Linked DNA regions of Homo sapiens: regions 1 and 3 are each linked to region 2. Evidence: promoter capture Hi-C in human tissues and cell types (Jung and others, 2019). All regions are on one chromosome and are shown on one strand. The core of a region is centred on a gene start or on the middle of the fragment in contact, and the rest is flanking DNA. Distances in the headings are between cores, read along the strand shown.

Region 1 (3,096 bases), core at 257-2,756, 47 kb after region 2:
TTCTCATCTCATTATCTGCAGGGGAAAATAGTACTTCAGCAAGTGATCCAGTTGAAGAACATCTCCAGGGCCATTAACATACAGAGGTTTGTTCTACTCTCTCTGTGCTCCATGTCTAAGAACCTCAGCCTTCCTCCTAGGAGCTAGGGAAAGTCAGGAAAGTGAAAATAGTACCCCAGCTAATGAACTGCCCTGTGCTGGCCTGAGAAGACAAGACCAGCTTCCTCAATGGCTCAAGATTTGGTTTCCTTCAATATGTCCTTTTGGAAATATGTCCATGACATCGGAGAGATAAAAGGAGCCAGGATTGCTCACATTCAGGAAAAAAGCTCCACTATCTTTCTCTCTCTCCCTCTTTCTCTCCCTCCCCCTGACTGCCCTCTTCTCTATCTCTCTCTCTCCCTGAGCTGGCAAGGTTAATTGGTCGCAGCAAGTCTGATGAACCAGTTGGGCTTCTTGGACTAAGTTTCAGAAGGCTGAGACTGGGATGAAACTTATCACAAAAGTAAAGGAACCACTTAGCCTTCTTTGATTCCAGGCCCCCAAGCCTGTCTTTAACTTGGATGAATGGAGTTCTTCCTGTGCTACAGCACCGCATAGTAGGGGCTGCCCTGGGCCTGAAGCCAGAGCTTCACCATATTCAGTCATCTGTACATTGAGGCAACAGTGCCTGCTTCATGGTGCTACCCTGTGGATTAAATGAAGCAAGTTTTTGATGATCTTGACACTGAATATTGATGCATTGGTCAGACTTTTTCTGATAGTAAAAAATGGTGGTTTCTTGTTGTCAGAAATCAAATCAATATATTTGTTCTCCTGTTGATTAGCTATGTCCCCTAGAGGGCAGCGACTTTGCCTGTCTTATTTATCTCTGCATCTCCAGCACTTAAAAGGTGCCTTGCATAAGGTACATATTAAGTTCATATGAATGAATGAATGAAATGCATATGATTTATTCATACCCAGTTGGTGGTGTGTTTACCCTTTCCTAAACCTGTAGTCAGATGGCCTTTGAATCCCCTGTACTTCTTGTGAGGTACTGTGCTGTAAAGGTGGACTATCACACTTCAATTCAGAGCAATCTGGGCTTGAATCCTGGATTTGCCAGTTTATTAACTATAGCAAACATTTTTGAGCATACATTGTGCCAAGTGCTAGGCTAACTGTCTTACACACATTGTCTTATTTCGTCTTAATATCTATGAGTCATGCACTATAATCATCCCCATTTTACAGATAAGAAAGCAAAGACTTGGAGAGGAAAAGCATCTTGTTCAAAGGTAAATACTTAATGGCCAAGCCAACATGCAAATCTAGATTTAATTGCAGCTTCCTCTTCATCTACCATTCGAACTAATTCAAGCTATGTAATATTTCCCACTGAACCTTCTTGCCTCTACTTCCTCATCTTTAACATGGTCAAAATACCTGTCCTGCCCAAGTTAGTTATTTCATTAAAGTAGAAAAATACAAGAGAAGCTTTTAAAATGTGAAAACCTCAAAATGAATGTAAAAATTATGATGATTCCTTTAGAATTTGTCAACACCTTCTTTTTCTCTACTCCTGCTAGGCATTTACAATCTCAAAACCATGTATTTAAGATGCAAAACTATATTTGTATTTGCCATAACTGGTTTCTTTCCCTATGGCTTCATGAAAATGTGGCTCGAATGTGTTTATTATGAAAGCCCCAAATTAATCACGACAAGACTTCACCAGCCCATTCCACAATAGACTCCCATTACTTTGCCCTGACTTAGAAACCTCATATACAGTCTTGATTCAGTACAGCTCTGTGATGCTCTTGGAAAATGCAAAGTGCTTTCTTAATTGAGGCAATCTGTGTCCCACTACAGAGAGGTGGTTTAACTTGTGAATTCAGGAAAGCAACTGGTTTGACTCAATTTTTTGGCCATGTTCTCAGTTCATTTTATTTAAAGCAATCAAACTGATGTGTGTGTTCTATGTTCATTGAACCATAGTGGGTTTACATAAGCTCATAGTTTTAGTTGTTCTTTTTACATTCTACTCCTCTGGTTTGAGCTTCTATGTTTTGTATATTTCCATTCATGGGGTTGAGATATTTGATTCAGGCTTTATATTTTCTGAGGCCCGGAATAAGTATTTCTTCCACACTTTAGGAAGTGTGGTCCTCTTCACTACTCTATGTAAACAAGAGGAAACTAACAGGTTGTGGTGGGATTAGAATTTAGTTTATTATTAGAACTCAGTTTATTTTGCCAGGTTTTCTGGCAACTTTACCTCTTTTCTTTGTCAGGGCACTTACGCTTTCTCCTGACGCAGTGGAAACTCCACAGGGCCAGGGCTCAGGGCTTTCTTGCTCACATTGTCTCCACTGCTGACTCAGAGCCTGGCATGTAGTAGAGGTACAGCATGTGTGTGTGTGTGTGTGTGTGTGTGTGACACAGACAGAGAGAGACAGAGAGAGTGAGACACAGAGAGAGACAGAGAAACAAGAGAGACACACAGAGAGAAAGATGGTGAGACAGAGACATAGAGAAAGAGAATAAATAAAACTTTACCAGCCGAAAAAAAGAGAAGAGAAAAGCAGGCAAAGGACGTGCCATTGAGCTAGCATTCATTCAATAACTGATGCACCAGGCGCTGTGCTAAAAACACATCCAGTTGTCATAAAATCCATTCACTCATCAGGAAATCTTTTAGTATTTCCTTACAGTCTATTAATAGTTTTGACAGCTGTAACAAGCATATGAATTTCCACCTGTTGGATTAAAAGCAGCACATTTGGGCTGTGATAAGTACCATTTGTGGACACATGACAGCAGCAAGAAGTGACATCCTGAGAAGGAAAAACATAAACTACGTATAATAAGAAAAATGAATAAATATGAATATTTAAGACTCTGCTTTTCTGGGTGTGTATGTTTCCTGTGCTTTTGTTGTATAGAAGAGGGGTTGTAAGTGTGGGAGTAAAAATATTAGGGTAAAGGAAATCTAGATAAACACTGACCAATCTACATTTGAAAGGAGCTTGTGATGTTCTGAGAGGGGGTGAGGAGGGTTGTGAATATATTTCACAGTTTTTTTTTTTTTTGACAGTTGTTATTTAGTTT
Region 2 (3,270 bases), core at 746-3,245:
CACTTCAGGTCTCAAAACCTGAAGTGTAAAAATATATGTGCACAAAGGAAGCAACATATGTAAAAGTTGATTCACTGCAGCACTGAGTGTAACAGCAAAAGACTTGAAAGCTATATATGCTGATATTAGAAAAGCTCCAAAATATGATCACTAACTGGAAAAATAAGAGCAAAATGTGAAGCAGTATATAAAATGTTAACGTTTGTGTTAAAAGCAAGGAGGCAAATACAGCTTATATGTTTGCCTGTGTAGATATAAAATTTGCCTAGAATACCTAAGAAATGTAAAAAAGTTGCCTGCCTGCCAGAAGACTTGTTACTTTATACCTTTTTATGCTGCTTAAATTTTGAGACAAGTGACTGTTTACCTACTCAAAAACAATACATTTACAAAACATGTTGGCAGCACTTGAAAAGAAATTAATAAATGCTAACGTAACTATTGCTAAAAGTAGAAAGTATTTCAAAGTTATTTGGGGGCGCTTTTCTTTTTTAGAATCTCTTGGCATTTAATACCTATAAAAAGTTCCCAAATCTGGCAAAAACAGGGAAAATAGTTGTCACGCTCATTTTAAGAAACTCTTTAATTAAACAGTACATTTAACCGGCAACCATTAGCAAATTCTTCCCCTTTTGTTCATCTTTTTCCCCTTTTTACATCTTTTCCTATAATGCCCAAAACTAAAAGTTAATGTCTCCAAAGTTAAATTTAATTTATAATGGAGTGACTATTTACTGACCATTTTAAAAGTCATTCTACTTCTTTTTATTCTGTGCCACAAACCACTAGATTTATAATATTTATGTACCATTTAAGGCACAAATTTTATAGAATTAAGTTGGTAACACAGAAGACAAAAGGACGTATTTTCTACCGTTATCCCTCAATCTTAAACAGGAAAATAAAAAGACTGAACAAATTTGAGTTTTAACTAATCACATACACATTTAGAAATCAATTTAATTTAAAAGGCCCGCAGTTGTTTTTCAAGGTAAATTTCCTGCTTTAATCAACGATTTCTTTTTGAAACAAGCGGATGTTAAGAGTTTGGTAAGCCGAGCGTACTTTCTAAGCAATGTACGTAATGGAAAAGATAACAGTAAATGTGTATGTGGTTATACAGACTAGATAATCTACAAACTCCTTTCAAAAATGGACACATTAGAAGACTCCATGACTCAATAATCACCACTTTGGTAAAAGTGAAAACTTTCCACATCCATATGCCTTCCCTTTCCCATTATTACAAGGAAATCCTGAAAGGAAGGCTCTGAGTCATCATATCTCAGGGGTCAGATCTCAGGGGTATTTCCTTCTAAACACACCCTACTGGAAACGTTTCTCCCTCAGGTCCAACTTCTCCAGGAAAAAGCTCAAAGCGAACAACCTCTCCCCACCCCCTTCCAAAAAAGTCAAGGCTTCGCCCAATAAACAAACACTTCCTTCCTCCTTTCAAATCCAGGACTTTCCGAATAACCCAAAAGAAGGGCGATTAAGCACAGCCCTAGAAACGCCGAGCACTGGGAGGAACCGTGGCCAGAGGCTCTTTCTTATGTCGAGATCTTATCGAGGAGAAAACAAGGATCGAGAGACGGTCCCAGGAAGAACCCCAGAGCTGGGGCGGGGGCTGAAGGCGTTCACCCAGCCGGGCCTCCGGGCTCTGCCAGCCCCAGCCCCAGCCCCAGCCCCAGCCCCAGCCCGGGCAGGAACCCGAAACGCGCGGGGTCGCGGCAGGAAGAGCGCGCTGCTCCCGCAAACTTGCCCCCCCAGCCAGCAGGGCGCAGGGAGGGGCGCGGAGCCCCCTGAGGAGAGGGCGTCGCCGCTGCCTCGCGAAAACGGCTGCGACCAGGATGCAGTCTGTGAAGTGGCCCAGGGACCGTCACACCTCTGCCCCAAGTCCCCGCGCCCGGGACCTGGCACCGGCGTCCCTCCTTGCCCCCTTGGCCTCTCACCTAGCCCACAAGGAACCGCTCGCCGCCGCCGCCTCCGGTCACTGGCACGGACTTCTGAGGCCCGAGTGTAAGAGAGCGGTGCGCGCCCGAGGACCGCCCCCGAGGCGCGTCATGGCACCGCCCCCGCCTTCAGCCCGCGCAGTCGCACGGCGCCGGGTCGGGTGATCCCGTCCCCAAGGTAACGGGGCGGTAGGGGTAAAGAGGCCTGGGTGTGGGTCGTTCCTGCAGCTCCAGGTATCCGGCAAAGTGGGGCGGTTCATGCCGCCCGCTGTCCGCTGCCCGCTGCCCAGCGGTTATGCTCCCAGTCTTCTCCGCTCTTCGGCTGTTCGTGCCCGCGGGCCCCGTGCCACCCACTCACTACTGTGTGCATCGCAGCTCACGGTCGCTTGGTTCTCGTCGCCTCCAATTCAAAGAGGTCTCGGGAGCCCCTGTTCCCTCTTGGGATGCCTTCGACTTCCACCACTTGCTGCCCTAGTCTCACTCTCCGCTTGCTGTACCTCTCCACTATAGGCTCAGAAACGTTCCTCTCACGACCCCTTCTCAACTCCTGCTTTATTTTTCTGTTGGAAATTTGGATGTTGGGGGTGGGGGGCGTATTACTCTGTCCGCCTAAGCTAATATTCCTTCGCTATTGAGAGTTAGGTGTGGTGCTGCGCAAAAGTAATTGCTTCCCAGTAAAAAAACATAACGATCATTTCTTGAGGGCTGATTTTGTGCCAGCCATAGCTCTACGAACTTAATGTATAGTCTTATTTGGTCTTCACATCAGTCTATAAAGACATCCCATTACAGACAAAGAAACTGAGGCACAGTTTACCCAAGAGTAATCATAGTTACCACGGAATACTGTAGAGTCCTTGACAAAATAGCATTTACAAGCAGTTTATTTCTAGCTAAATTAGTGCCAGAATAATTTAATATATGGCAAAACTAATAAAAATCTGAGTGTAAAAGAGGTGACAACTAAAGATGAAAACTTTGCTCTCAGTAAGGTTATAGTTAGGCTGATGAAATGGACATTTAAAAATAATTACAAGGTAGATTGGGAAGGAAGAAATAAAACTTTTTGCTTTCAGATGAGATGGTTATCTAACATAGAAAATCCGGAAAAAATTGACACTCCTCGCCTAAAAAAACAGAATGAAAAGCAATTATAGCAAGTTTGCATGAGCAAGTTTAAAACAGGCTCATTCTAAGCCAAAATGCTTGGGACCAGAAATGTTTCCAATTTTGGATTTTTTTTTTTTTTGCTTTTGTAATATTTGCATTATATACTTATGGGTTTACCATCCCTACTCCAAAACTCAAAATGTTCCAG
Region 3 (3,372 bases), core at 806-3,305, 57 kb before region 2:
CTTTCATCAGTTCTCAGCCATTCTCTTCTCCATTTCCTCTGTCCTATTTTCTGTCTTTTCTTTTATAATCAGTTATACTTAAGTTAGTATGTTTAATATATTCCTTCAGATCTCAGATACACACTCCTATATATTTTTTTCATTCTTTTTTCTCCTTTGGTTTTGTTTTAGTTAGGACACTTTTTATTGACCTGTTTTCAGCCTTACTGGACCTTTCCTCCACTGCATCCAGTCTGTTGTTAAGATTGTTTAGTTAGTTCTTTGTGATATCAACATTTTTATTCCTATATTTCCGTTTGGTTCTTTTTCATAGTTTCTATTTCTCTGCTGAAACTCTGTCTTTTCACATGTGTTGTCCATCTTTTGTTCTTGTTGACCCACTGCACCCAGGCTGGAGTGCAGTGGCATAATCATGGCTGACTGAAGCCCCATCCTCCCGGGCTCAAGTGATCCTCAGCGTCCTGAGTAGCTGGGACCACAGGCACATGCCACCATGCCTGGCTAATTTTTTATTTTTTGTAGAGATGGTATCTCAGTATGTTACCCAGCTGGTCTCAAACTCTTGGGCTTAAGTGATCCTCTTGCTTTGGCCTCTCAAAGTGCTGGGATTACAGGTGTGAGCCAACATGCCTAGACTGTTCTTGATCCTTTATCATATTTACTATAGTTATCTTAAAGTCTTCCTCTGATTGATCCAATGTCTGACACACCTTCTATAGAGTCTTTTCTCTCTTGAGCATGAGTCATATTTTCTTGCTTCTTTGTTATGCATTATAATTTTATTGTATTGTAATTTTTTTATTGAGCAGTTTGTTAAAAAGGAAGTGTTGAGACCGAACTAAATAATATTTACCTCCAGAAGTGGTCAAGCCACCTCTTATTCTGTCAGGCTACTTGTACAGGGAGGCTCTGTCAATCAAATCTGTCACTGAGCTGCATTAAGACTTTGTTGCACCTGTGGTTAAATTTAAGCCAACACTGCCTACAACTCTATTGAGGGAGTGATAAAGACTTTCTCTTCCACAGGACTTGGGATCTCAGCACTTGAAGGATTCTAGAGATATCTTTGTGCTTTATAACTGAGCCATCGGGTTTCTGAACTGTGGGAGATTTCCCTTGTTTTGCACCTCAGTCGACAGCATTTTTGGATCTCTGGGGAGCTTTCTTTGCTCTCCAGTCTCAACTCTGGCTTTCCATTTCCCTGAAGATCTCTCTTCATTCTGCAGCCCTTACTCACTTCTATCATAGGTTGCTCCTCCTCCTGCCACTCACCTGTTGATCTCTTCTTTCCTTTTTGCAATCATGTTCATTTAGGTTGCTTTACATGCTCAACATTCCAGTCGGTTTTAAAAAGCTATGAAGATTGTTCAGTATATCCAGCTCATTTTGGTTGTTAGGGTGAAAGCTTCAACAGTCTCTTACAGCTTTCCCATCCTAACTTGAGGTGGAGATCTTCCTCTGTATCTTTTTGTCCTGTCACTTATAAAGAGATTTATTTTTAACCCAGTTATTTCAGTAATTGCCTTAAAATGTTGATGATTTGGTTGTTTTCCCTTATTTTTTCTTAAATCAGTTAAAGCAGAATGAGAAGGGACTTTGTTGATTAAATATTTTAGGAGTGAGTAGTGAAGAGATCATTTTTCAGAGGTTTTCTGCAGTAAATTCACAGAGGGATATACTCAAAAATATACAAAGGAATATACAGTTACTCAAATGTATTATAATTCAAGTAATTATAATTATGTAGTCAGAGCCTTATAAAGTGTAGTGTGAAATAAATGCCACTTGTGTCAAAATGGTTTATAGGATGATAAAAATAATGACAGAAAAATAGGAAATAATTTAAATGTAAGAATAGTTTCAAGGCCTATTTATTTTGGGGGGAATGAGTTTAGCTAAGGGTTATTTGGTATTATTTACTTGTCTGTCATGGCTTCTGTGGTAGATAATCTCACCTATTTCTTTGAAAAATGAGTTTTTATCATGCCATTTCTAAAGAGTCAGTTTTATCTAAGCAATCAATTTATATTACCATTTTTCTTATATTAAATGTAGTGTTTAGACAAATGTCATAGAAAGTCACACTGTAGCTCCCTTAGATAAACCTAGAAAGTAGATCAATTTCTGATTTTTCTTACTTTTGCTGAAAAACCTATTTTCAGGTTCCAAAACATTTCTGAAAAGCTGCACATGGAATGCAAAGCAGAAATGGTGACGCCTCTGGTGACTAATCCTGGACACGTGTGCATCACGGACACAAACCTGTATTTTCAGCCCCTCAACGGCTACCCGGTGTGTAGACCACAGGGTCAGGTGGGGAGCTGCCCATGTTTAAGCTGTTTCCAGACCATGGCCTCACAATGCCAGGGACCTCACTTTTTGATGAGGATCAAGTCATGTCCCTGCCCACCCCCTTCACAGGCAGCATCTGTGTATTTTACAAACACCGTGTGTAATCGTGATGTGTAGTCTCTGAAGTTTGAGTTCTTCTGATCTGTTTTCAGTCATGTCAGGGGCACTTGCTCTCAGTGTGGTGAAAAGAAACCCTGCTCCTCCCTATTTTAGTAAAGGGTCGCTAGAGATTTAGACCTTTCTTCTAGGAGGCATTTCCTAGAGACCAGTGAAATATACTATGATTAATAAGAAATAGATTTTGAAATATATTTGCTTATATATACACAGATGTTGGTATTTCTTGCTTCTTCTTAATGATGAACAACCTCAGTAGATCTGAATTTTTCCTGAAGGAGCACTATGAGCAGGTCCTCCCAGCTAGTGCAGAGGTGTGTGTGGAGATCCTGCCGTCTGGCAGTTATGGGCTCCTGCTAGGATGTTGGAAACAATCTTCTCTTTCACAATGACACAGACTTACAAGGCCAGAAAATAAATATAAACTTAGATATCCATGCTGAAACTTGTAAAGATTTGTTGCTTATCTAGATCTGGCCACTTTTTAGCATGATCCATTAAAAGAACAGAAATCCTAACACACCCTGGTAGTGCTGTGGGGCCATTTGGCAGGGCCCAAGAATTCTGCCAGAGAAAGTTCCACCTTGGAAATTCTCCAGGCTGGTCATTACAGGGCACTAAAACATCTCAAACTCTCCTGAGTGAAAGATTATGCTATAGTGATTGTGTCCACTAGGTGGTGGGGCTCACTTTCCTAGTTCTCCAGTAGACACTGCATGCTGCTAGCACAGCATTCTCAGGGAGTGTAAAAAATTGGCTTGGCTGCTACTATTGCTTGGGTCAGAAATTTTGAGAAAAAATGTCTGTGTACCCTAGCTTCACAATCCATGGTATGGGCCTTTACCCCTTCCCAATACTGGCCAGGATCCTTGACCAGTCATTTCCAAGACCTGACTCTGGGAC

What was found. Contacts are between HindIII fragments. The study calls those that stand out against the background at their distance.
Region 1: a fragment that was not itself captured here is called in contact with the fragment with the promoter of SDCBP in region 2 in 1 of the 25 tissues and cell types used here (stomach).
Region 3: a contact is called between a fragment that was not itself captured here and the fragment with the promoter of SDCBP in region 2, in 1 of the 25 tissues and cell types used here (hippocampus).

Annotation. Positions count from the first base shown.
Region 1 is chr8:58,504,267-58,507,362 of GRCh38, reverse strand. No RefSeq gene overlaps it. Among named protein-coding and RNA genes, the nearest start is that of CYP7A1, 5.7 kb to the right of the region's middle. The HindIII fragment of the contact is 5,298 bases long and covers 1-3,096 here.
Region 2 is chr8:58,551,986-58,555,255 of GRCh38, reverse strand. SDCBP (syndecan binding protein) reads right to left here and starts at 1,995. Exons shown (of 9, transcript NM_005625.4): 1 at 1,953-1,995. RefSeq lists a silencer at 1,613-2,142 and enhancers at 1,619-2,336, 2,243-2,422. The HindIII fragment of the contact is 17,033 bases long and covers 1-3,270 here.
Region 3 is chr8:58,608,524-58,611,895 of GRCh38, reverse strand. It overlaps NSMAF (neutral sphingomyelinase activation associated factor), which reads left to right. Exons shown (of 31, transcript NM_003580.4): 10 at 2,163-2,292. Among named protein-coding and RNA genes, the nearest start is that of NSMAF, 50 kb to the left of the region's middle. The HindIII fragment of the contact is 5,427 bases long and covers 1-3,372 here.